Regions from separate parts of the Homo sapiens genome. Here regions 2, 3, 4, 5, 6 and 7 are each linked to region 1. Evidence: promoter capture Hi-C in 16 types of primary human blood cells and fetal thymus (Javierre and others, 2016). All regions are on one chromosome and are shown on one strand. Each heading gives the region's core, a stretch centred on a gene start or on the middle of the fragment in contact. The rest is flanking DNA. Distances are from core to core; before and after follow the strand shown.

Evidence for each region. Contacts are between HindIII fragments. The CHiCAGO score rates a contact against its expected background, and 5 or more counts as called.
Region 2: a contact is called between a fragment that was not itself captured here and the fragment with the promoter of BCORL1 in region 1, in 1 of 17 cell types (naive CD4 T cells). The highest score is 5.7, in naive CD4 T cells.
Region 3: a contact is called between a fragment that was not itself captured here and the fragment with the promoter of BCORL1 in region 1, in 7 of 17 cell types (M2 macrophages, total B cells, non-activated CD4 T cells and 4 more). The highest score is 9.4, in M2 macrophages.
Region 4: a contact is called between a fragment that was not itself captured here and the fragment with the promoter of BCORL1 in region 1, in 2 of 17 cell types (total B cells and M1 macrophages). The highest score is 5.6, in total B cells.
Region 5: a contact is called between a fragment that was not itself captured here and the fragment with the promoter of BCORL1 in region 1, in 11 of 17 cell types (M2 macrophages, activated CD4 T cells, M0 macrophages and 8 more). The highest score is 7.9, in M2 macrophages.
Region 6: a fragment that was not itself captured here is called in contact with the fragment with the promoter of BCORL1 in region 1 in 14 of 17 cell types (non-activated CD4 T cells, total B cells, M2 macrophages and 11 more); the score reaches 18.0 in non-activated CD4 T cells.
Region 7: a fragment that was not itself captured here is called in contact with the fragment with the promoter of BCORL1 in region 1 in 1 of 17 cell types (non-activated CD4 T cells); the score reaches 5.5 in non-activated CD4 T cells.

Annotation. Positions count from the first base shown.
Region 1 is chrX:129,980,724-129,984,213 of GRCh38, reverse strand. BCORL1 (BCL6 corepressor like 1) reads right to left here and starts at 1,579. Exons shown (of 14, transcript NM_001379451.1): 1 at 1,452-1,579. RefSeq lists a silencer at 514-750. The HindIII fragment of the contact is 8,398 bases long and covers 1-3,490 here.
Region 2 is chrX:129,519,934-129,523,423 of GRCh38, reverse strand. It overlaps SMARCA1 (SNF2 related chromatin remodeling ATPase 1), which reads left to right. Exons shown (of 25, transcript NM_001282874.2): 1 at 1-227. The coding sequence starts at 54. Among named protein-coding and RNA genes, the nearest start is that of SMARCA1, 1.8 kb to the left of the region's middle. The HindIII fragment of the contact is 434 bases long and covers 1,034-1,467 here.
Region 3 is chrX:129,540,990-129,544,479 of GRCh38, reverse strand. The region is part of intron 2 of OCRL (OCRL inositol polyphosphate-5-phosphatase); the gene reads right to left. Among named protein-coding and RNA genes, the nearest start is that of OCRL, 2.5 kb to the right of the region's middle. The HindIII fragment of the contact is 2,232 bases long and covers 1,125-3,356 here.
Region 4 is chrX:129,558,156-129,561,413 of GRCh38, reverse strand. It overlaps OCRL (OCRL inositol polyphosphate-5-phosphatase), which reads right to left. Exons shown (of 24, transcript NM_000276.4): 7 at 2,661-2,781; 8 at 2,413-2,574; 9 at 763-864; 10 at 121-235. Among named protein-coding and RNA genes, the nearest start is that of OCRL, 20 kb to the right of the region's middle. The HindIII fragment of the contact is 2,612 bases long and covers 1-2,556 here.
Region 5 is chrX:129,579,992-129,583,481 of GRCh38, reverse strand. All of the region lies in intron 18 of OCRL (OCRL inositol polyphosphate-5-phosphatase), which reads right to left. Among named protein-coding and RNA genes, the nearest start is that of OCRL, 41 kb to the right of the region's middle. The HindIII fragment of the contact is 3,432 bases long and covers 2-3,433 here.
Region 6 is chrX:129,599,334-129,602,823 of GRCh38, reverse strand. No RefSeq gene overlaps it. Among named protein-coding and RNA genes, the nearest start is that of APLN, 54 kb to the left of the region's middle. RefSeq lists enhancers at 1,232-1,732, 1,733-2,233. The HindIII fragment of the contact is 5,330 bases long and covers 1-3,490 here.
Region 7 is chrX:130,348,542-130,352,031 of GRCh38, reverse strand. It overlaps SLC25A14 (solute carrier family 25 member 14), which reads right to left. Exons shown (of 11, transcript NM_001282195.2): 5 at 2,687-2,781; 6 at 1,301-1,386. Among named protein-coding and RNA genes, the nearest start is that of SLC25A14, 10 kb to the right of the region's middle. The HindIII fragment of the contact is 845 bases long and covers 1,513-2,357 here.

The DNA of each region.
Region 1 (3,490 bases), core at 330-2,829:
GCGGCCCCAGCAGGAGCAGCAGCGGCGGCGGCGGCAGCGGCGGCGGCAGCAGCGCCGCCCCCGGCCCCGCCCCGCCGCCCGCCGGAGCCCCACGCCCCGCCCGCCCGCCCCGCCGCCGGACTGCTCCCCCCGAAGCCCACCACTAAGCCCTCCCACTCCCCGGCCGCGATCCGCTCGAATCCAGCTCCGCTGGGCCTGCTGTCCGTCCCTCACGCCCCTTAGGACCCGGGGTGGGGGAGCCCTGGGGTTCGCGGCCATCCCTCTCCCTCCTTCTCCAAGGGCCGGGGGATTGCCCCTGATCCCGAAACCCGGCCCCGTAACCGGAGCCTCCCTCCTTCCAGCCCTCGGCTTCGCTCGCCGACCCCTTGCCTCCAGGCCTGGCGCGAAGCGGGTGGAGGGCTTGCACGCCGGATCTCCCCTCTGGCTTGCCGGTGCTAGTATGAATTGCCCCCGATCTCATCTTCCTTCAATTTAAGCCCCCTCCCCGCCGCGCCCGGCCCGGCGGCCCCCGCCCCTAGAGCGAGGGCAGCGGAGCCAGGGCGCTCCGAAGTCATCCCCCGCCTTTTTTCCAGGGACTCGGATAATTGCCCCTGCCCCCATCACAGCACTCCCACTCCCGAACCCAGGCCCCGCCGCCACCTAGGGGTACCCCTTACCCTACGATTCCCGCACCCCAGCGCCGGGAAGAAAGCAGCCCTGAAGAGCACCCGTCGCACCTCCCCTCTGAGGTTGGAGGGCATTTTCTCCCGGTCTCTTCAACACTTCATCACGGACACCCCCCCCCCCCAAAAAAAAGCCTTTTCTCGCCCTGCCCTGCTAGCCAGCCTCCCTTCGGATCGTCGGATCCTTGGATCGGGGGTTGGAGTCAGGTAGTTAACAAGACCATAGCCTCCACCTCCCTTTCCGAGGAGTGGGGTAATTCCTATGGTTTCCCCCCCAGGATCAACCGACCCCCGTTTCCATGGAGACCCCCGCCCAGCCGGGAAGAAGACTCTCTTGGATCGTGGCGAACGAGTCTCACCTGGCTAAGAGAGAAGGGGGTCGAGAAGGGGGTAGGGCAAGTCAGGGGATGGGGTACGAAGGTGGGAAGTGGAAGGGAGCTGTCCCGAAGGGAGGGGCGAAGACATACCCAGCTCCAGGGAGCGCTACGTCCGGGGACACGAAGAGGACGGCGCCCCCGGGGGGCAAGCCGAGCGGCCGCAGGGAAAAGAAGGAACAGGGTTGGAGAAAGGCTTAAGATAGAAAGAAGCGGGTGGGGGGATACGAAAAAGCCGGGGAGTCAAAAGGGGTGGAGGGATTGGGGGAGAGAGAAAAAAGACGCACCTGTTCCCGGGTCGGCTCCGCGGGGAGGCTCAGGCCGCCACCCGGGCTCCCTCTTACTCCCTCTTAACCGCCACCCGCCTAATACTGCCCCGATCTGATGCCCCCCTCCGCCCCTTATCGCCACCGACCTCCTTCTCCTCTCTCTCGGCGGCGGCGGCGGTCGGACTCTAGGAACTGAGAGGAAGAAGGGAGGGCTCAGCAAAGCGGAGGAGAGACAGAGCCACACACTGGCAGCAGCCGCGGCGAGCGAAAGAGTGAGGGGGAGAGCGGTGTGTGTGTGTGTCTGTGTGCGAGCGAAGCCTGGTGGAGTGGGTGCCGGTCGCAGGGCTCGACGGGAAGTGGAGTCCGGCTGGGTCCGCGGGCGGCGCCAACCCCCGCTCCACCGGACTACAACTCCCAGAATGCGGCCTACGCGGGTGGGGGGGAATGGGGAGGAGGAGGCGAAGGGAGGGAGCGAGCAAGAGAGGGAGGGACGAAAGCAGGGAGCAAGCGGCGGCGAAGGGGGCAGAGCCAAGCAGCCCCGGTGACACTGGGAGGGGAGGAGAGGAGGAGGGGATCGCTGAGAGGACCGAGCGGATTCCGGAGAGGGAGGCAGCAGTGGCTGCAGCAAGCCGGGCAAAAAGCTAGACTCCTGGGAGAGGCGGAGGCGCTCAATCTGCGGGGCTGCAGGAGCCCCACGTCCCCCCCCACCTCGACGCCCCTCGAAGGGGGAGGTTGAGGAAGGGAGAGGGTCAGTGAGCCGCGGCCAAAGGGTTCTCTCTCTTTCTTCCAACGTTCTCCACCTTATGCCCCGACCTGACTTTCTCAGGCCACTGGTGCCGATCCAGTGTGCAAATCTCGAGACCCCAGATCTCCTCTGCCGGGCAGCGGAGAACAGACGCATTCAGTCCCCTTCTCCCAGGGGCCTGAGGGAGGCTCCCCTTGCAGGCAGGGCGTGACTCCCCCTTCTTCCCGCTCCCCCCCCCACCGTCGTCGCCACCCCCCCATCTCCCTCCCCGGAACCCCTCCCCTGAAGCCGGGGCTCGCCTCTCTCTCTCCCCGCCAAGACACGGAGTCCTTCTGGGGACGACTACCCAGCCCCCTCCCTTATACTGGGCCCCTACCCACCAGTATCCCCTTCTTAGCGTTGCCCCCTCACCGAAATAATGGTGGGGGCGACCCGAGTTGGACTGGTGGCTACTTTCCCTCCAAGGCTAGCCGTCCTTCGCCACGCCGACCCTGTGTAGAAATAGAGAAGCATATTAATACTCCCGTCCCCCCTCCCCCCCAGATTTGAATACCCGTGGAAGTGGCTCACAAGAAAGAGGGGTTGGTAGTGGAAGTGAGCTAGGGGTGAATCCCAATCTTCAAACCTCATCCCTCCCATGGAAATCCAGGTATTCGCCTTTTGCTTAAAAGCCATTAAATCGCTTGGGTGGGGGGTAAATTATCTAAACCCCAATGTCCATGCGACTCGAAGCGACGCTACCTTGTAGGAATAAGATACGAACTAGGTTGCCGCCACGGGAAGGAAAGTATCCCCCACCCCCGTCGCCGTCCACCCCCAAAAACACATACCCCTAGGAGAGTCAGATGGCTGAAGAAGGGGGAAGGCGGTGGGAGTGCTGGAGAGTAAAAGGACTGTGGCGGGGAGGGTCCGCGGCCCCCACTACGAGAGCAGAATCCAGATGCTAAGAGGTGGGTGGGGGGTGCGGCACAATCGCAGACTGTGTCTTTCCTCGCTTTTCCCGGAATCGCCGCCCGATCACCGTCTAACACTCGGAGTTGCTTACCACTCAGTCCCCTAGCCCCATTTGTGCGCGTGAGGCGGCCAGAGCCCGGGAAGCCCGGGCACAAACTCCGCGGAAGCTGGCCTTCGCTGCCGCCGCGCCGCCGCGGGCCTCCCTCCCTCCGCTCGCGGCCCCGCCGATCTACCTTCGCCCCCGGCCGAGGCCAGACCCCGCTCACAACTCCACGCCCCTACTCCACCCCCGGCTCTCCCTCCCCTCGCCCTCTCCCTGCGGGTCCGGCCCAGCCCCTAGCGCCGCCCCGCCCTACCGCTCGGTCCAGAGCCCAGCAAGTGCCCCGAACTCGCCCCCCGCCCCCACGCCCAGGCCAGTCTGGCCAGGCCTGGTTTCCCCCTCCCGCCGCGCCCCGCCCCCGAATCCACGTCCTACTTCGCCACCCA
Region 2 (3,490 bases), core at 1-2,500, 460 kb after region 1:
CCAGGAGCCCTCGTCCCCTGCCTTGTCCCCCTACTCGTTCCCGCTCCCACGGCATGGAGCAGGACACTGCCGCAGTGGCAGCCACCGTGGCAGCCGCGGATGCGACCGCCACTATCGTGGTCATAGAGGACGAGCAGCCCGGGCCGTCCACCTCTCAGGAGGAGGGAGCGGCCGCCGCGGCCACCGAAGCCACCGCGGCCACGGAGAAGGGCGAGAAGAAGAAGGAGGTAAATAGGAAGGGGGTGTGTGTGTGGTGGACAAATCCTGTGCCTGGCCCCTCTGAGGGGCCCAAACCCTGACCTTTCGGCGCCGACAGGTACCCGCGGAGCTTTGCGGGGCTAGGGGCGGCGGGTGCGGGGGTCGGCGGCGGAACCGCCTGGCGTTCGCTCCCCTCCCCCTTTCCTTCTCGCCGCCTGGAGGACGGGGGCGGGGCTGGGCGCGGGCGGGAGCGGCGCGGGGTGGAGGGGTGCCCGCTCTCCCGGGGCCTGGGGGCTCGGGAGCCCCTCGACAGCCCCCGACCCCCTCCACCTTCCCGGAACTCGGGTAACGGGGTGGGGGATGGGGCTGTGCAGGAAAAAGCCTCCGCCTCTCCCTCTCCTCTCGCTCGCTCCCTCTCCCCCCGCCTTCCCGTCGGCCTCTGCCTGGGAAATCTGGGCCCTTCAATCCCACACTCGCGCTAAAGGGGTTTTGCTGGGGCTTTTTTTGTAATTTGAATTTCAAGGTGCTGGTGGTTGCTGGGTGGAGGGTGACAGGGAAGACATTTCTTTCTTTCATTGGCAATGTCGGTCTTTTGGATGGCAGGAAAAAAACCATCCCTTGTTCGTTTGAACCCCGCCTGCCGAGGTGGGGGTGTCACCCCGAGGAAAGGAGCTCTCTGCGTCGTACCCCCCCGCCCCCCCAAACTGAGGAACCGTGGACGCTGGCTTAGGAAAATTTCCAACATCTGCACCCTCACCCTCTTCTGCCCCGCCCCCGACGGTATAGGGTTTCACTCCAGGGCCACCCCAATGGTCCCTCAATCCGGCCCCAAGCTTTCCAGGCTTCCGCCTCCCTCTCCTAGTGGGCGCTGCTGGCTCCTGGACACACACAGGTTTTTTTTTTTTTTCTCCTTTAATTTTTAAAAAACTCAGCGTCGCCAAGATGAGCTGCTTCTAACGTAAGGGAACTGCTCTGACACATATTAAAGCCAATCCAGAAAATATGTATTATCTCCATAAGGCACATTTCGTGTGGCCCGAGACATGCAAATAAAACTATAAAACGTTGAAAAATTGACATAAAAATAGGATGGGGCATAAGCATTTTTGATGTATGATAAAATTGCATAACTAATGGTTTATGTGTGGATTTTTTCCTATTTACGAGTAGTCATATCGCAATTTTAAAAAGGTGGGTAATTATGCTTTAGAGATCTCAAGTGGCTTTGTCTGAATCATTATATGATACTATACGACCAAATGAAAAGCTTTTGAGGAAAATGAACACCTTTCGCCTTAAATGAGAAGAGTAATTTTAAATTTAGCAGTTGCTTCTGTGACATATTTTACTATTACAAGGTTGACTAAACAGAAGGACAATTGTAGTGCTAAATGAAAACCGTAGAAAACATACACATTGTAAGATCTACGCGGTACTTGGATTAGTAAGACAATATTGTTGGTTAAAAGTGGGTGTAATACCAAGCATCAATATAAATCAAATGTTGTGAAATTCGGAAATGTCTGTGTGCCTTTTATTCCCTGGACTGGGCAAATGTGAGTGCCAAACTGCCTTTTGTATGGCAGGAGAGGTTGTCGAATTTCCAGATTGTATAAATTTTTGAATTTTGTATAAAATTTTGTATTGTGAAAAAACGGGAGACCAATAAAAAAGCTATATAATATAAACACTGAGTTGATGCCTACATATTTGTCAACTCTTGCCTCATTAGAAATTGCCCTACCAGTACTTCATTTGTCCACCCAGGACAGGGAAATGAGGTGCTGTATGTCAGGAACTTCCTGGATATCCATTTTTATTTTTAATTTTTCCTTAAAAAATGAAATACATTACATACTACCTTGACACTTTAAATTGCATACTAAAAGTGCAGATTAACCTCTTCTTCATGGCCATCAGTTAGTGTACTTTGACAGTGACACAAAGGCACCTGAAATCCCGCAGGTTGTTCCCTCTCAATTAAGTAACCACCTACCAGACTCTTGCAGTGTTGTGTTGATTTTTAAAAATAATTTTTCCAGCCGGGCGCGGTGGCTCGCGCCTGTAATCCTAGCACTTTGGGAGGCCGAGGCGGGTAGATCACTTGAGGTCAGGAGTTCGAAACCAGCCTGGCCAATATGGTGAAACCCCGTCTCTACTAAAAATACCAAAAAAAAAAAATTAGCCAAGTGTGGTGGCAGGCACCTGTAATCCCAGCTACTTGGGAGGCTGAGGCAGGAGAATCGCTTGAACCCGGAAGGCTCAGGTTGCAGTGAGCCGAGATCCCACCACTGCACTCCAACCTGAGCAACAGAGTGAGACTCCGTCTCAAAATAAATAAATAAATAAAAATTTTCTGTCTTCTTCCTTAATTGCCAGGCTGTTAGCGATCACTTTTTAAACACCTCTAGTTTCACCAGAAATAATATGTTAGTTTATGATAAAGATTATAGGTGTAACAAAACCATAAACTCATTTGAAAACCACTGTAAAATACAAAAGTGTCAGTGATAAAACAGGGAGAGGGAAATAATGACACGTGCACACCAAGAATCAGTGATGCTACTGCAGTGGAAGACATTTTCGTCCTTGGTTTCTGCCGTGTCTTCTTGTAGAGTGCCTTCATCTAGTGATCTTTCCATGTCATTTACTGTTGCTTGTATTCTCGGTGACATGGGAAGCCAGATTTTCAAACTTGGTGGAATTGTCTACCAAATAAAAAGAAAATAGGTTTCTGAATGAGAGCGCTTTCATGATGAATACAGTAGATGAGAATTAGTGAATTGACCTGTGACATTTACCTACTCAAAGGTGTTTTTGCTTACTTTCTGGTTGTTGAATTTAGTTGGTTTAAGTGACGGTTGGATTACCCAACACTGTAGACATGAAAACGTCAAGAAAAAGGTCATGGTCTTTAAAACAAGCCATTTTGTTGACCTTGTGCTGCATTCTCATGGCACCTAGACTCAGATAACAAAATCCAAAGGAATTCATTAGAGTCTCTTAGTCACTTTTCATCTTTTCTTGTATGAAAAAAATGTAGTTTTGAGAATACACACACACACACACACACACACACACACACACGAGAGAAGGTTTAGAAGGTAGGTATTTTAAAATTTGTTGTGGAAGATAGTGCCAATTAAGTAATTACCCACAGCTTTTAATAGCCCTGCTCAAGATTAGGATTTTAATTAGCATATAATTAGATTTTGATGGTAGTCTACCGCAAGGTAAGCAAAAAAGTAATGGGTAAAATGTTTTTCTAGGATTAAAGCTTTAATTTTCTGTA
Region 3 (3,490 bases), core at 991-3,490, 440 kb after region 1:
TGGATCTGTCTCTTCAAACAAGCATTCAGGTTCATGGAGGAGTAAGAGGGGGTGCTCAGCCAGCTGGATTGGTCAAAATATCAGTGACCAACAAGGTGGCAGATATCACAACTGGATTGCCTTCAAATCCCTTGTTTCTTCTCTGGTTTCCAAGTTTACGCTGGTATTTCTACATAAACATGAGTAAACCTGACTCCCCAGATGAAATCCATACTTCTAAATCCATACGTACTCCTGAAATATTAATTTTTCATTTATTATTTATCCTTAGTGGTCCAGAATCAAGGTACGACCTACTGGTAAACAGCCATTCTGAACGTCAACTAGCATTCTCAAAGTCAAGCACTCTTCAAGTATTGTTTTTAGTTTTTTGTCAGGAACACTCTGTTTCTTTCCGAGTTTCATCTCAAATATCACCTCCTCCATGAAACTGTCCTCAGTACCCCCAAGCAGAACCAGCAGCCTTATCGCCTTTGTTTGCCCCTCTAATAGAACACTTACACACTCCATTATGGTTATATTTATTTCCCCTCACTGATTTCAGCTCCTTGAAAGCAAAGACCAGATCATATTCAGTTTTGTCTGCAGCCTAATAGATGCTCAACAAATACTGGCTGAATAAATTAACTAGCTTAATTAAGCTATAAGCAGCGGTGAATTTTTCAATGAAACTGTCCAACTTCTGACATTAAAATGTCATTGTTTTGAAGGGTTTGATTTCTATTTTGTTGTCTTTTGGGGGTGCTTGTTGCTTTTGCTTTTTGCATTTTCAAATGTGTTAACTTTGAAGAGGATAACCTGGGATAGGATAAGTAATTACTTAGATAGAACTAAGGGAAATAAAAGTATTAATGCTGTTTTTCTGCTGTGATCCTTCTTGCCTAATTTGCAGGGGTTTGTACTCTAAGGTGATTACAGGAATATGGGGCAGGCCCCTTTCCATCTGGAAAGTTCATGAGTTGAGTGGAGAGTCCTATAAACCCAGATGGAAACCAGAAACCAGATAAAAGGCTGAGAAATCAAGGGTTAAGGAGGAAGAGCTTACTTTGAGGAAGATAAACACAAACCACTAAAATCTCAAAATACATAAACAAGAAATGGTGTTGAACATTAGCATTAAAGCTTCATCTGGACAGTACTGTTAAAAACTATTACAAAACAAATAAACTGAGAATTTAAGTGAATTTCACCAACATTTATTGAGTATTTACTACGTGTTACCCACTAAATTACAATAAAAGAGTAGGGCTAAGAATAAGCATAAAAATTCTGAGTGTAATTATTCATTTCAGAATATAAAGATTAGAAATAATTGGTATACAGCAAAACAATGGAATTCAGAATTTGGTAGTTGTCAAACAGAAAAGAGTGACAAATCCTGAATGCCAACTCTGCCTTATCCCTAGGAAACACTTTGATTTGTTCAAGGAAGGTTAAAGGTCAAACAGGTTTTGTCATAATCTATTATCCTTGAAAAATATGAATCTTAAGTGTTTGATTCCCTGTTTCCAAAAAAACCCTGATTTTTAATTGTAATTTTGGTCAAGCAAATTTCCTATGGTTGACAGTAGGAACCACAGACCTAAAGATTTAAGTCAGGCTTCAAGTTCTAGGATAAAAAAGCCAAAAGTAAAAAGTTCTGGACACTCGAGTCAGAAAAGACACCAGAGAGACAAGAATATGAGGATTACAGATGGTATTATGGTATTAGGTGTCTCCAGCAAATGCTTTCAAGAGAAACTTCTCAGTGTAATTCTGAGACATGTTACATAGGATCAGATCTCAGGTATTCTACTCCCTAATTGCAAACAAGTGACTTAACCTGTCTGTGCTTCAATTTCTGTATCTATAAAAGGGGGATGATGATATTACTATCTTATAGTAACCCTCACATGTGGATTAAATGAACTAACTAATGAAAAGGGCTTAGAACAGTACCTGGCACATAAGCAGCCATTGAATGTTAGTTATATAGCAACAACTATATTAGTTGTTAGTTATATGTTAGTTTATATATAAACTATAGTTTATATGTATTTAAAACTATAGTTTATATATATTTAAAACTATTTACATAGTTTATATATAAACTGCTAATATAGCAACAACTATATTAGTTGTTAGTTATATAGTTGTTATATAGTGTTACCTATATATTAATGTTAGTTATATAGCAGCCCCATACCCCCACATATACCCCCAACTATACCCCCATAACTTACACAGAATTGGAACACACGACTTCCTTATTAGCTCAACAGAGTTCCAAATCTACTAATCCGAGGGACTAGATTCTGGGCTGTGGTCATCTCAACAATGTAGCTACTCTATTCAATCTTCATGATTTTGTTTTTACATTAGAGGAAACCAAGGCACACAAGTTTTACTGGTTTGCCCAAGGGTCACCTCTCTGTAACCCACTCTAGCCTTTGGAAATGTTAGTGGTGTTCCACTTTTCTGCTGAATTTTGTTTTATTAAATTCTGAATTTAGTTTAGTTTCATTAAACTAGTCTTCCAGGGTTTGATGAAATCCGGGTTTGATGAACTTCCCAGTAGAGCTGACTAAGCAGGACCTATGAAAGAGCTACTTCACAGAATTAGCTGACATCCAGTTAGAGTGGCACCAATAGTCTCAGAGAAGAGCAGGTTGGGCCAGTGGGAATTTCTTCCGTGTAAATCTGACAGCATAGATACAGAGGATCTAAAAGTGGGGACTGAGAAAATTGGTTTTAGGCAGAAGCCAATGTTGGGAGATGGCAAGATTTAAGTGAACAATTTTTAAACTGGGAAGGAATATGATGTCAAGAAGCCAATGAATATCCAAGTGAGGTGTCTTGGGCACACAGGGATAGGGGCCTATGATACGTAATGGTCACCATGGATATTTTTGAGATAAGATATTAGTGACAATAGAGTGAGGTTAGCAGCTATGGTGATAGCTTATCAAAATAATCTTTTGATCAATCAGTCAACAGTATTTACGGAGCTCCTATGGCAGAGAGGAAGGTGACACACTGATAAAATACTGTCATTTCTATCTCTACACATTTCATTACCTTTTCTTTCTAACAGTAAAGTCAGTAAGTGAGGCAGTTTCTGGCCTACACTAAACCATTACTGAATTAATGAATATGCCTTCAACCCAGTGGGATAAGGGGACGGGGAGACTGGAGAAACCAGCTGAATAGGGTTAAGACAAGTCTGTAACGTTAACAATGAAGCATTTCCATAGCACTTTTACTTTTTGGAAGCCACTCTCGCATTTATTTTTCCCCCAGTTATAATTCCAAAGGCTGTAAGGTAAGGCAGTTAATGGTTTTATTAAACTGAAGAGTTAACTTTGGCCCAGAAAGCTTTATTGACTTGCCCAACGTTACACAACACATGTCAGTTGCAGGGGCAGGAACTAAGAACCCAGGCTTCCTGCTTCCCCGCCCATTCAGTCCTTCCACTGAGCCACACTGCCAAGCACAATCCAGAGGCTTGGAA
Region 4 (3,258 bases), core at 1-2,500, 420 kb after region 1:
ATTACACACAGAGAAGAATTCAATTAAACTATTCTTTTGGAACAAGTTGTAGATAATGGAATAACTCCCGGTGAGCCCTATTTAGTCATACACTTAAAAAGATAATTAAATGCGGCTTACTTTCTTATACTTGGCTTTGGAATGCAAACCTCTCTCTACAGCCATGGACCATTCTTGTTCCTTCACAGATTCAAAGTAGAAGAAGGCTTCTGTGCTCAAGTCCAGTTCTTGGAATCTGAGGAAAAAAGGGATATGAGATCTATACATATCCCATAATTATCTCTGGCTACCTCCTGTCCCATATGTTGAAACATTAGATGAAAAAAAGATGGGAGAGAGATAAATTTTATAGAACTGCTCTGTTCACCCAGGTTATCAGTAAGAACAAGTAGCTTTCTTTTCTAAAGAATTCCCACAAGTACATTCATAAGCTATGCAAAAAATAAATCAAAATACCTCCCACAGAGGATAACAGCAGAGCTTTGCTCTTATATCCTAGGAACTGTCACTGTTAGAACTGACCCCAAGTCTTAGTTTCTATGCAGAATATATAGATTCCTACGGGTTTCAAGAAAATTAGATGCTTCCTTACACCATTTTAGGTATCTGTTCATTTCTGTTCTCACAAATTTGACCCGCAAGTTAACTCTCGTGTATAGTCTACAGTAGGTTTTACCAACAGTCTTTTTTAAAAAAGGCAAAACATCATGTAAATGAACACCAAACATATAGCCAAAAGGAAATTCCAGAAGTGTTCTTTACCCAATGCAGTAGATATCAGGAGGATTGGGATCACAGTTCAGCCAAGGTTCTAACCCGCTATCTGGAGACTGGCCATTCACATTCCAAGTTCCAACAAAAAATCTAATACATAATACGAAAAGATAATTTGAAAACAAAGATCAAGTATAAACCAACAGAAGTTCTTTCTTTTCGCTTCCATACAAAGGTATGTTCACAATATGCTAACATAATTCCTCAAAATGTTTTGCCACATATGTAAGAAAGATCTTTTGCATCTAGAACACAAAGGCAGTGGGCTTATTTTCTCTAAATTTTACATTAAGTAAAACTACAGAAGGAAACCAAGTCTTTATTTTTAAAAAATGCAAAGGTAATTGCTATACCACATTTCCTTTCAATTAAGCTCCATCCAAACTCATACTTGATAGGAGAGCTTATGGATGGGAAAGAGGTATCTTCATGCTGTAAGCTAGTCAAATATGGATAAATGTTCTATAAGGGGCTATAGTTGACTCCAGGAACTCACTTCCTGAAGGATTACAAGGACATCTGTGTAGGAAATTCTGATGAGGCAGACATAGTATTAAGGGGGAAAGCAGAAGGGAAAACTCATGACTGTCTTAACTGTTTACACACAAATATAAGCATAGTGGGGGATATGAGGAACTGCAAGTTTTAGCATAGGGATATAGTTATGACTGAATTAGAATAAATGAGGTATGACAGGATAGCAGATGGGACTAGAATCTTGGACTAGAAGGGTACATTCTGCTCATGAATAACAAAGAAATGTGGTGTTGCTTCATGCATTGGCGATACATGCCACATGGTACCTCACATGCAGCATACACACACAAGTCCAGAAAAAAGATGAAATAAAAAATAATACAGATAAAAGAACCCAAGATAGACCTCCCAATCAAGAGGACTGGGTGAAACTTTCTTTATTTACCAAAGTAAGTAAGTTAAGAGCTAGTGGTAATGATGGACTTTAATTTTCTAATATTGGCTGAAAAAAAAAAACTTAACAGGCCAGATATATAAACACGCTTGCTTATGGAATGTGCTAGGGGAAAATTCTCTAGTACATGTGACCTTGATTTGGTTCTCTAGGACTCAGTAGAGACATTAGTAGACATGGCATTATTAGTAGTTAGAAAATCCAAGGGAAGGCCAAGCACGGTGGCTCAAGCCTGTAATCCTAACACTTTGTGAGGCCAAGGCGGGTGGATTGCCTGAGCTCAGGAATTTGAGACCAGCCTGGGCAACCTGGTGAAACCCAGTCTCTATAAAAAACACAAATATTAGCTGGATGTGGTGGTGTGCACCTGTAGTTCCACCTACTTGCAGGGCTGGCGTGGGAGGATTGCTTACGACTGAGAGGTTGAGGCTACAGTAAGCCATGATCTATCTGCTCTCCAGCCTGGGTGACAAAGAGAGACCCTGACCCACACACACAAAAAAAGAAAATCCAAGGGAAACTGTAGCATCTGCATTATTTCTGATATGCATGTTATTGGCCAGCATAGAGACAGGAGCTTGAAACAGGCAACCATTCCTTTTTATCATATTTTGATTCTTAATTAGGCTAATGTCTTAAATATCAACAGGCCACTGTCTGTTATATATACTAACTTTTTAGACTCAGGAAGCAAAAGAGACACTAACCTGAAAGTCTGAATGTTGACATATTCTTTCTCTCGCTTTGCCAGGATATGTTTGATGAGACCCTCCCGCTGCCCAGATTGGGTATTTGGTACAAAGAGCTTCCGCATGGTGTTGGTCACTTTGGGCTGCTCCTTGTTAGAAGCTTCTTTTTCACGTGGAAGCCTAGCAAATAAATGAGAGATTCAAAAGTAAAATTGTTTAAACTATAATTCTCCTACAAGGCAAATATGTTTTCACATGGGACTTACATTTTATTCACTGAAAAGGGTGGAGGTGGGGGTTCCCGATGAATCCCAGTAGGCTGATTTTGTGAATTTATTTTCTTGTCCAAATTCATAGAAGAAAAATTGTCTTCAAATCCAAGAAGCCCTGAAAGACACAGACCCCAAAGTCAAACGGGGAAAAAATCTAACATCCAACATATCCAGGGTAACAGGGCTTTGATTTGATCACAATTTGATCAGTGGTATTACTAAACAGAAAACTATCATAAGGGTAGAAATTACTTGGATTGGAGTTCGAAGAAGCATACCTATCCCTGAAGCACTGATATACTAACTAGAACAATAGAAGTTTATAAGAACTTGGAACAGACTAGTAATAGCTAACATTTATTGAAGACTGAGCACAATGCCTGGTTGAGAGTAAGGGACTATATCATGATCTCACTTAATCATCACAAAAACTCCAAGAAGTAAGTACTATTAAAAATCTTCCCATATTACAGAAAGGAAAAGGGAAGTTCAGAGTTGTTGAGTAACTTGATGAAGGTTGTACAACTAGTAAGTTCTTGACTTGGGATTCAAATCCAGGCTGTCTGGCTCTCGAGCTTGTACTTTCTACCAC
Region 5 (3,490 bases), core at 468-2,967, 400 kb after region 1:
TTAAATTATTTGCCCAAGGCCACACTCACTATTAGGTAGTAAGTGGCTGAATCAGGATTGGATCCCAGGTCTGACCAACTCCACAGTCATTATCACTATGTTCCGTTAGACAATTCAAAAAGGACAATGTGACTGCTTCCTGGACAGAGAGGTAGAGGAAAACTGTGAGAATGTATTCTCCATAACAGGCTAAGGACAGTGAGAAACCCCACTTAAAAGACAGCGTGGTTAATGGAAAGAGTATAGGCACTGGTGTTGGACAGGCTTGGGTACAAATCTTCGTTCCACCTCTTGGCAATTTTGTATAGCCCTCACACAAGTTACCAAACTTCATAGAGCCTCAGTTTCTTCATCTCTAAAATAGGGATAGTAATATTTACCTTGAAGCAGCCTAAAACCAATGGGTGATGGGGCAGTATGCCAGCAGAAGGTCTGGGTTCCTCAAAGTTCCTCATACCTCCCCAGTGACTCCCAACCTGGATTGTTTCGAATCTGACTATGGACCACTAAGCACTCAAGTCTAAATTACATGTCTTAGTTCTGCTAGGTAAAAGGAGAAATCCCAATCTTACTGTCTGAGATGCACAGGAGCTGGGAGTGGAGAGGGAGGAGGAAAAGTATGTGCTCCCTGGCATTCCTAGTGGTAATACTGAATGCATTCCTCCCACACTACTGTTATCCATGGGGATTAGGCGTTTTAATATTGGTAGATACTTCACGAATTAAACATGCTTTTGTGGGTTTATCTAGACTCTTAAATATCACATGAAATAAAGCAATTAGAATAGTCTTTATAAGGTACATATTTATAGTACTATAATTACGATACCTTTTAATGTCAAGTTGATTTTGAGTGCCCAACATCTGATACAATTTTAGACTAGAACCTCTTGTAAAATTTAGGACTTGTTATCAAATGAAGAATCTATCTGACACATTTTATATTTTTCCTCCCATGAATATCTAATACATGATATGAATAAAACTAGACAGAGATTTTGTATACTAACCTGTCGAACCAGGCTCTCAAAAAAGTTTTCTTTAAGCAGCAGCCATCCTCCAGTACAAGGCATTGTGCTAAAATGCCTTTGCAGGGGAAGGCAATGAGAAATGAGGATAAAGGAGAAAGACCTGGTTTGTCCCTGACTCTGATTTGCAACTGAGTTGGGGTGAGGAGTTCCAGAGTTTACAGACTGGTATTGTTATAATTCATGAATACGAGTTCTCAATAAATCATTGCTAGCCCTTTAAAAGACTCACAGAATTTTAAAGGGTAGAGATGGGGAGAGAATATTACAAGTGGAAGAGGCAGAAATAAACAAAAGGCACAGAGACAGTAAATCACAAATTGATATTAGGAAGAAGTTAGTCATCTGTTTGTGGGGGGCATGGAGAATGCCAAGAAAAATAGTGTGAAATAAATCTGAAAAGGTATGTTGAAGTCAGACTTAGGAGGACCTTGCATGACAGATTAAGGCATTTGGATTGTATTCAGCAGGCATGGGGAAGCCACTGACTACCTTTAAGCAAGGAAGTGATAGGCCCCAAAGCAGTAGTACAGAAAGATCAATCTGACAGCCCTGAATAGGAAAAAATGAAGGGCAGAGACAGAGACAGAGAGAGAGAGAGAGAGAGAGAGAGAGAGAGAGAAAGACAAAGGGATCATTCAAAGGCTACCGAGGTAGGTCAAGCAGAAGAAGGTAAACATCTTAATAATGGAAAATTTTATACACACACACACACACACACACACACAGGTGTGTGTATATATATATATATAATTTCTAAGTATATATATTAAAGGATATATATATATAATAAAAGGTATATACATACACTTACAAATGAATGAATACAAGAGAAAATTCTGAAAGAAGAATCAAAAGGACTTTGATTAAATACTGATGGAGGGACAAGAGATTTACTTCTCTAGGTACAGGCACAAAGAAACAACATAGAAATTACATTGAATTCAACCTTGGTCTCAATTTTGAAAACAGAAGCATCACTTAACCTTTATTAGTAAACAGCTTACTCCTATAATAATCCTAAGGTTTCTACTATGAATCACTTAGTTCAACCAATTTTAAAGAGCAGAGATGCCCATTCTCTGCAAAAGGCTATATATGGATTACATTTAAAAAGAGAACTTAGTTCAGGATTTCCCCAGTGGGACAACACTGGCACATAGCAAATGCAATGCAAATCATTCTTTACCCCAACATTCACCCTCAGAAGACTGTTCCCCGTGGTAAATGCAGCTAAAATAAAAGAGTCAATTAGAGGTGGAAGATGCAAATTTAAAAATAAAAAGCATAGCCGGGCACGGTGGCTCACGCCTGTAATCCCAGCACCTTGGGAAGCTGAGGCGGGTGGATCACCTGAGGTCAGGTGTTCAAGACCAGCCTGGCCAACACAGTAAAACCCCATCTCTACTAAAAAGGCAAAAATTAGCCAGGCGTGGTGGCGCGCGCCTGTAGTCCCAGTTACTCGGGAGGCTGAGGCAGGAGAGTCACTTGAACTGGGAGATGGAGGTTGCAGTGAGCCAAGATTGTGCCACTGCACTACAGCCTGGCCGACAGGGTAAGACTCCATCTCAAAAATAAATAAATAAATAGCCGAAAACTGAATGGAAAATGAAGTTCTAAAAAGGATTAGTTCATATGAAATAGAGAAGAAATACAAGCCATATACTTAACAGAGTAAGAAATGGATGGTTAGATTAGTAAGACAAAGTAAAAACATAGTGAAAAAAACACTACGGACAAATTAACAAGTTATTCCTGTTATTTCAAACTTTTGATATTGTTCTCCCAACAGATATGTCCCCAAGCAAATATAGTTTCTCTACCCATCCCTCAACTTTTTTCATCTCCGTATTTACAACTTAGCCACATCTGGCAAGTTCAAGTCTTGTCTCCTTTCAATTAGTCCATTCTACAAGTAACACCAGAATGTTCTTCCAACTATATCAATTTGCAACCTCATACTAATCAGCAAACCCTTCTGATGGTTCTAGATACCCTCTGGCTCATGCATAAACTTATCTATTGACTTCAAGACTCTCTACCACCTGCCCCATTCTCCCTAACCAGCTTCATACATTCTTATCCTTGATCTTCACTTGTCCCAGGGAAATCTTACAGTTTTTCATACATGGTCTTTTCACTTTCACCTTCTACCCTTTATTCAAGATGTCCTCTAAGCCTGGAAGAGCCTGCTCACCCACTATATTAATAAGTGTTTCTTAAGTACTTGGACTTGACTGAAAATACTTCTATAACTAACTCCAAATCACCTTCCTAGTTCACTTTATTCTTATGTGCTAAACTTATTTCTCAGTCATGTTAATGTTACATGTATCAAATATTCATTAAAATGAAAACAGGCTGATTCTGATTTCTATAGGGATTAGCTGGTCAGTCAATAAGCTTTTATAGCATATAAGGGCTTGAATAAACAACATAGGAAAGGAACCTATTGTTAATAC
Region 6 (3,490 bases), core at 512-3,011, 380 kb after region 1:
GGGGTGAGTGGAGGTAAGAAAGTGGGGACAACAAGTGGAGACAACTCGTTCAAGAAATGTGGCTCATACCTGTAATCTCAGCACTTTGGGAAGCCGAGGTGGGTGGATCACCTGACGTCAGGAGTTCGAGACCAGCTGACCAACATGGTGAAACCCTGTCTCTACTAAAAATATGAAAAATTAGTCGGGCGTGGTGGCATGTGCCTGTAATCCCAGCTACTAAGGAGGCTGAGGCAGGAGAATCACTTGAACCTGGGAGGCAGAGGTTGCAGTGAGCCGAGATCGCGCCACTGCACTCCAGCCTGGGCAACAGGAGCGAAATTCTGTCTCAAAAAAAAAAAAAGAGAGAAAAAAAAAAAAAAGAAAAGAAATGAGAAATGTGATTGTGGAGGGGATGATAGAATGGTAGAGGAGGAAACTTCTATCCTTCAGCCATCACCCCCACGTATCAGGTCCAACAGTCCTAGAAGTGAGTGAAGAAATTCTATTACGATTTTACCACTATTCCATGGCTCCAAAATCCTTGTATTAGTTTCCCAGGGCTGCAGTAACAAAGTACCACAGTGGGAGGCTTAGAAACATGTTGTCTCACAGATCTGGAGGCCAGAGTGTGAAATCGAGGTCAGCAGGGTTGGTTCCTTCTGAGGGCTGTGAAAGAGAATCTGTCTCATGCCCATCCTGAGCTTCTGATGGTTTGCTGGCAATTTTTGGCATTCTTTGGCTTAGAGATGCATCACCCTGATCCCTGCCTTTGCCTTTACACAGTGTTCTCCCTGTGTGTGTGTCTCTGTCCAAATTTCCCTTTTTTATAAGGAAACCAGTTATATTAGATTAGGGCCCACCCTACTCCCAGTATAACCTCATCTTACTTAACTAATTATATCTGTGACGAGTCTATTTCCAAATAAGGTCACATTCACAGGTACTGGGGATTAGGACTTCAACATATCGATTTTGGGGGGATACAACTGAACCTGTAACAAGCCCCATTCCCTTTTGGTCTCCTTCCTCTCCACTTTGCTGTGCCATCTTCTGGCCAGGGATTAGTCTGTTTCTTCCCAGGTCACAACTGTGTTTCTCCCCGCCTCTCCAACTGCCTCGATTGATTCCATCGTTCCTTCCCAGCTGACCCCTCTCCAGAGAAGATCGAAGTCATTACCTTTCAGCAGTGAGATCACCTCCCAACCATTGTTGACACTTTCAAAATAACTTGAAACATTGATGGACAGTGAAAGAGGCAAGAGAGGAAAATGTGATTTAATTCTACCTGTGTTCAATGAAGAGTGCTGAAACTTCCATGAACTTTAGATACTTTTAACCTAGTTCTGAAAAAAAAAAGTTTTTGTTTTTGTGGACTTTTAAGGCCATAAGTAAGAGACTGTAAGGAGAAAAGTCAACCGAATTTCCCAAAATAGAAATGATCATGAAATAAGAAAAGTAACTGCAGCTTTAAATACCAATTTTATTATACAACTGGAAACCGTCATTCTCCTCTGCCATCTAGTGGCCACAGCTACAATCAGAAAACGATCCTTGCTCTTCAAAGCCAGGGCCACCGTTAGAGGTAGAGGGGTATAGCCCATTGTTGTCAAATGGCCTTTACAAGTGTGCTTGGCCCGTGGACATGCCTTAGAACTCCATGCTCCACGGTGCTGCCTCCGAGGTGCACAGTCAAGATGGGACCTTTGCTGCCCAGCTGTGTCAGCAGCTGGAGGACAGATGCCTGCGGGTGCGAGGGAGAGGGCAGGCTTGTGATGTGAGGGAGCTGCGGTGAGCGACTGTGCTGGCAAGGCCCTGTCCAGCCGCCTATGTGCTTGAGCAGGACACTGTGTTCATTCATCCCAACACACAGAAGTGCCTTTCTTTCATGAAATAATGTTTTCCTTAATCTTTTTCTGATTATAAAAGTCATACATCTTCATTGTAGAGCATTTAGAAAACCAGACATATAAATAAGAGTAAAAAAAAAAAAAAATTGAGATTGGCTCCAGAGAGTGGCTTGGGGGCTTTATCCTAATCTCCATCAGCACCCCCATAGTGACTCTGAATATAGATGCAGTGTAAGGCAAAACCCTGCTTGCTAAGCAAAGGCCATCTTGCAGCTTCAAGACGAATCCCCTAGCCTACCTTTCGATGGTTTCTAAACCCTCCTATGTAGACATTCTGAAGCCACGACTGCCCATGATGCCACCCTCTAGGGGTGACTGCTATTAACAGTTTGGAGAATGGACTTCCACTATTTTTGTGCCTATGTATTATCTTTATATCTGATATTTTAAATTTAGGAACATTAGGTACATACCTACTTATATGCTGCCTTTTCCACCTCATGTTATATCCTAACATTTTTCCACATCACAATTCCTCAAAAACATTATTTGAAAAGGCGCCATAATATATCCATAAACATCTACAATGTGTTTACCCTTCTTCTGGTGATGAAGGTTATGTAAATTGCTTTGTTTTTTGTGCTAATGAGTATGTTGAGATGAACAGGGGTGGACTTACGCCATTGCGCTCCTCTAGGGTGATTTCCTAGAAGTGAAATTACGAGTGTGAATGCTTCCAGGCTCTTAATGCATGTTGCCACATTGCTTTTAGAAAGGTGACACTTATTTACTCTTGTCCAAGCAGCAGGCGGGCTTGTTTTTCCTTGCCTTTGCCAACACTGGAATAATCAATGATGAAGATTACTGGATGCCAGGCATCAGGCTAGCTGCTGGAGATATGATAGTAAGGGGAGGAAAAGATGTGGTCTCTGCCTCAGCAGCGTTCCTGAGCTGGTGGGAGAGAGTGACCTTGATCAAATAATAAATGTGTAATTACAAAGTGAAGGAGAGGAAAGGGTGCAAGGAGAGCGTGTCACAAGGACATGTTACAGCCTAGGCTAGGAGGTGGCCAGGGAAAGCTCCTCAGAGAAAGTGTTGTTTTCGCAGAGACTGAGGCCTTGGGAGGAGTTGGCTCTGTGGTGAGAGGGAGCAAGGAGCAGACAAGGACAGAAGTCCAGTCTGAAAAAATGGGGGATGGGTCTACGGCCATACCACCGTGAATGTGCCTCATCTCATCTGAAAGAATGGGGGATGGCAGGATGTGGGAGGAGGCTTGAGTCCATGACAAGCAGACAAGCCAAGGCTTGTGGGTCCAGGTAAGAATTCTGGGACCCAGAGAGGGGTGATGTGATCAGACTTGCCTTTGGAAAATCACTTAAGATAAAAAAAAAATGTTAATCATGGTAAAAAGCACAAAACAGGGGCCAGGCACGGTGGCTCATGCTTGTAATCCCAGCACTTTGGGAGGCTGAGGGCAGATCACGAGGTCAGGAGTTTGAGACCAGCCTGGCCAACACAGTGAAATCCTGTCTCTACTAAAAATACAAAAATTAGCTGGGCATGGTGGCGGGTGCCTGTAATCCCAGCTACTCGGGAGGCTGAGGCAGGAGAATCGCTTGAACCTGGGAGGCGGAGGTTGTAGTGAGCCAAGATCGCGCCAC
Region 7 (3,490 bases), core at 686-3,185, 370 kb before region 1:
CTCACTATCTGGGTGATGGGATCATTCATATCCCAAACCTGAGCATCATACAATATACCCATGTAATAAACCTGCACATGTACTCCCTGAATCTAAAATAAACGGTGAAAAAAAAACTTGTTCTGTAAACCTAAAATGATATAAAAATTCTGTAAATTACTATCATTTTAGTCCAGAAAGACTGTCTCATATTTTTATCCATCAACCACCAGTGGTTTATTTCATGTGTGTTGTTTTTCATGTCTTTCTCTCTGTTCTCAAACCCCTCTCTGAATTGCAATAAATAGATCTCTCCTTTGCTAACCTAGCCACTTGTGGTTTCACTAGTGGTCAAATTTAAAAAAGCATGTGTCCTCTTACTTTTTTCTCGCAATCCCCTTAAAATAATTTGTTAAAACTTTGGGTTCCCCTCACTTATTTTAATCCTATATTTAGTGCTTTTAACTAATCATAAGCTTAAATACGTTAATAAGTAGAAAATATTTACCATTTTATGAAATAAGATGAAAATTTATATTAAAAGAAATGTTTCAGTCTGTGACTTGAAAAAACCTTAAAGAAATCCAACTATACTCTTAACAAGTCAGCACCACCAACCTATACTATTCTGGTTCTGAATTCAGAATATTCCAATACAGGCCAAAATATACCATGTTTAAAGCCAAATCTCACCCTGAATAGAAATATTAATAAGACAGGGAAAGACAGAGGCATTACAGACTTAAGATACCCAAATTGGTTACTAAAATAGGCTTCTCCAAGAACTGTATTTCAGTTTACCCCTCTGTTTGGCATCCCAGGTTATACCACAGGTCAACATACCATACCAAGATTTAGAATAGGTGGGGACGTACATTTCTTTTGTAAAATTGAGTAAGGGCTATTATGAACAGATTCATTCTCGTACCAGTTTTAGGATGGAGTACAAATGGATGTAAGAGATCTGGAAATTGATTCCTATAAAACTGCATAGCCCTTGGAAAGAACCTATAGGGTCTTGCATACCCCAGTGTGAGGACCAGTGGATTAACACATATCATAATAAACTGACTGCCATTTATTGAGCATCTACTACACCAAGTACAATGATAGGCAGTTTATATATATATTATCGCTAATCCTTTACAACTCTATGTTATAAACACTGTATTATATTCATTTTTCAAATGATGAAATTGAGGCTTAATGCAGTTAACTGATTTGCCCAAGGTTCTACAGCTGGCAAGTGACAGAGTGGGAATCTGAACCCAAATCTGACTCAAAGTTATGCTCCTTTCAAATCACACTGTATCTCTCTTACCTTTAGAACATCGGTGGGATTGGCTATAGTGGAAGATATCACTCCTGACACTACCCCACAGATCATATTAATTAAAAGAGTTTCATCTGTGAAAAGGAAAAGAAAAAGAAAGGTCTGCTTGTATTAGGCACCAGTTTGAGTACATACTACTGACCTACTGGAGGAAGGGAAACTTGGTTAGAGAGATGACTTTAGAAATGAACCAAAAAGCTTAGGAAAATAAAGAAACTCAAATATTTCTAGATCTCAATTCAGTGCTAAAATATATTAAAACTTGTAAAATATAAATCATTTCTAAAAACATCATTATTTCTAAAGGACACTGGAACACGTCCTTTTCTTCTACATAACTATCAGTATCCCACACACAAATTCAGAAGGTGGTATTTCCCCTTCGACCTTTTCAAACATCTAAAGAACATACTTTTTAAGTCTTTTTCTGGGTAATCATCAACTCTAAAGATTCAGGAACTGAATGTTAAAAGAGAAAATCTTACGTCTAATACAAAAAACTTATTTGAATATTAATTTTGATAGGCCTGAGATCTCTCCTAGCCTCTGTTAATTTATAAAATATTTCTGTAGTCAAATATGAAAAAGCAATCATTTAGAACTAAATCTCCTCAGTGAGAAAAAAGAACAAAGAAACCACAGAGCACATTGTTCTATAGTGAAATTCAATCTTTACCGCTCCTTCACACCATGAAGACCCCACAAATAGAAACTAAATAAACCCAAGTGAAGAATCTATGAAAGAAAAATATTTCAGAAAGAGGTGGAAGAGAACCCTTCACAATCCCCAAAAAAAGGCTTCAGAAAAAGTTGACTTTAGGACAATAAAGTGATTCAAAGGACATTACTAACCGAAAGGCTTTCCAGCTGTCCCCAAACATCCAACAGCCCCAGGCCTGTGGTAAAATAACCATTTAGTGTAGTATCATGATGGAAAATGCTACAGCAGCAAACAGACATATGATAATGCTGAATATGCATAAGGTAGCCAAAGGTACATCAGAATTTAGAAAACAGCCTAAAATTATTCTGCCTAATAAAAGCTTATCAAAATTGCCAGCTAGAAAATGCCTTACAGTTGAAGTCCTCTTATTGATGAAGATAGCATTAATTTTCTGGACAAGATTGTTCCATGTTTCTTTTGGGATGATCACATGCCTTTTTTGTTGATAGGAAAAGGGACAAATTTGAAGAACAGGTCTCTCTAATTCATATATCACCTCTGCAAAGATTTATTCCAAGTTAGAACAAGCTCACTTTGTCTTTGCAGTGACTCTCCTCCATTCTCAGGCACCTCATGACCAACATTTCTCACTAAGCATGATTTCAACAATCCCTTTGAGTATCACCTCAAAAGAGGGTAAGTATACTGACCTTCTAAACGTTCTACGAATAAGCGCTTCAAGCTTTGGTAAATCCCAATTTTAATGGTGCCATATGATGCTTGTCTTAGCAACGCAGGAGCAATTCTGAAAAAAAAAAAAGTAAAAAGTTATTCTCAACATTTTCAGATTATACATATCTAGATAGCCTACTTATTTGGACTACCCATCTCATTCTACCCAACAACAGCAGAATATGATTTTTTTCAAGCACTCATGAAACACTCAGCAAGAAACTGAACATTCTGGGTCATAAAACCAACCTCAACAAATTTAAAAGAACTGAAATCATATACAATATGTTATCTGACAATAATGGAATCAAACCAGAAATCAATAAGAAAAATCCTCAAACATTTAGAAATTAAACAATATATATCTAAATAATCTATTGGTCAGACCAAGTGTCTGTCAAAGGAATTTTTTTTTAATTCACAGGTCTAAATGACAACAAAATTCAACCTATTAAAATGTATGAGATGCAGCCAAAGCAGTGCTGAGGGAAATTTACAGCATGAAATGCTTGCATTTTAAAAAAAAAAAAGGGGGGGGGGGGGTAGAGTCTCAAATCAATAATCTATGCTCCTACCTCAAGAAACTAGAAAAAGAAAAGCAAAATAACCCAAAGCAAGCAAAAGAAAATAATAAAAAGCACAAATCAATGAAATTGAAAATAGGAAAATAGAGAAAAATCAATGAAACAAAAAGTTAGCTCTTTAAAAAAAAATCAACAAAATTGATAAACCTCTAGCAAGACTCACAAAGATAAAAAGACAGAAGATGCAAATAAGAAATG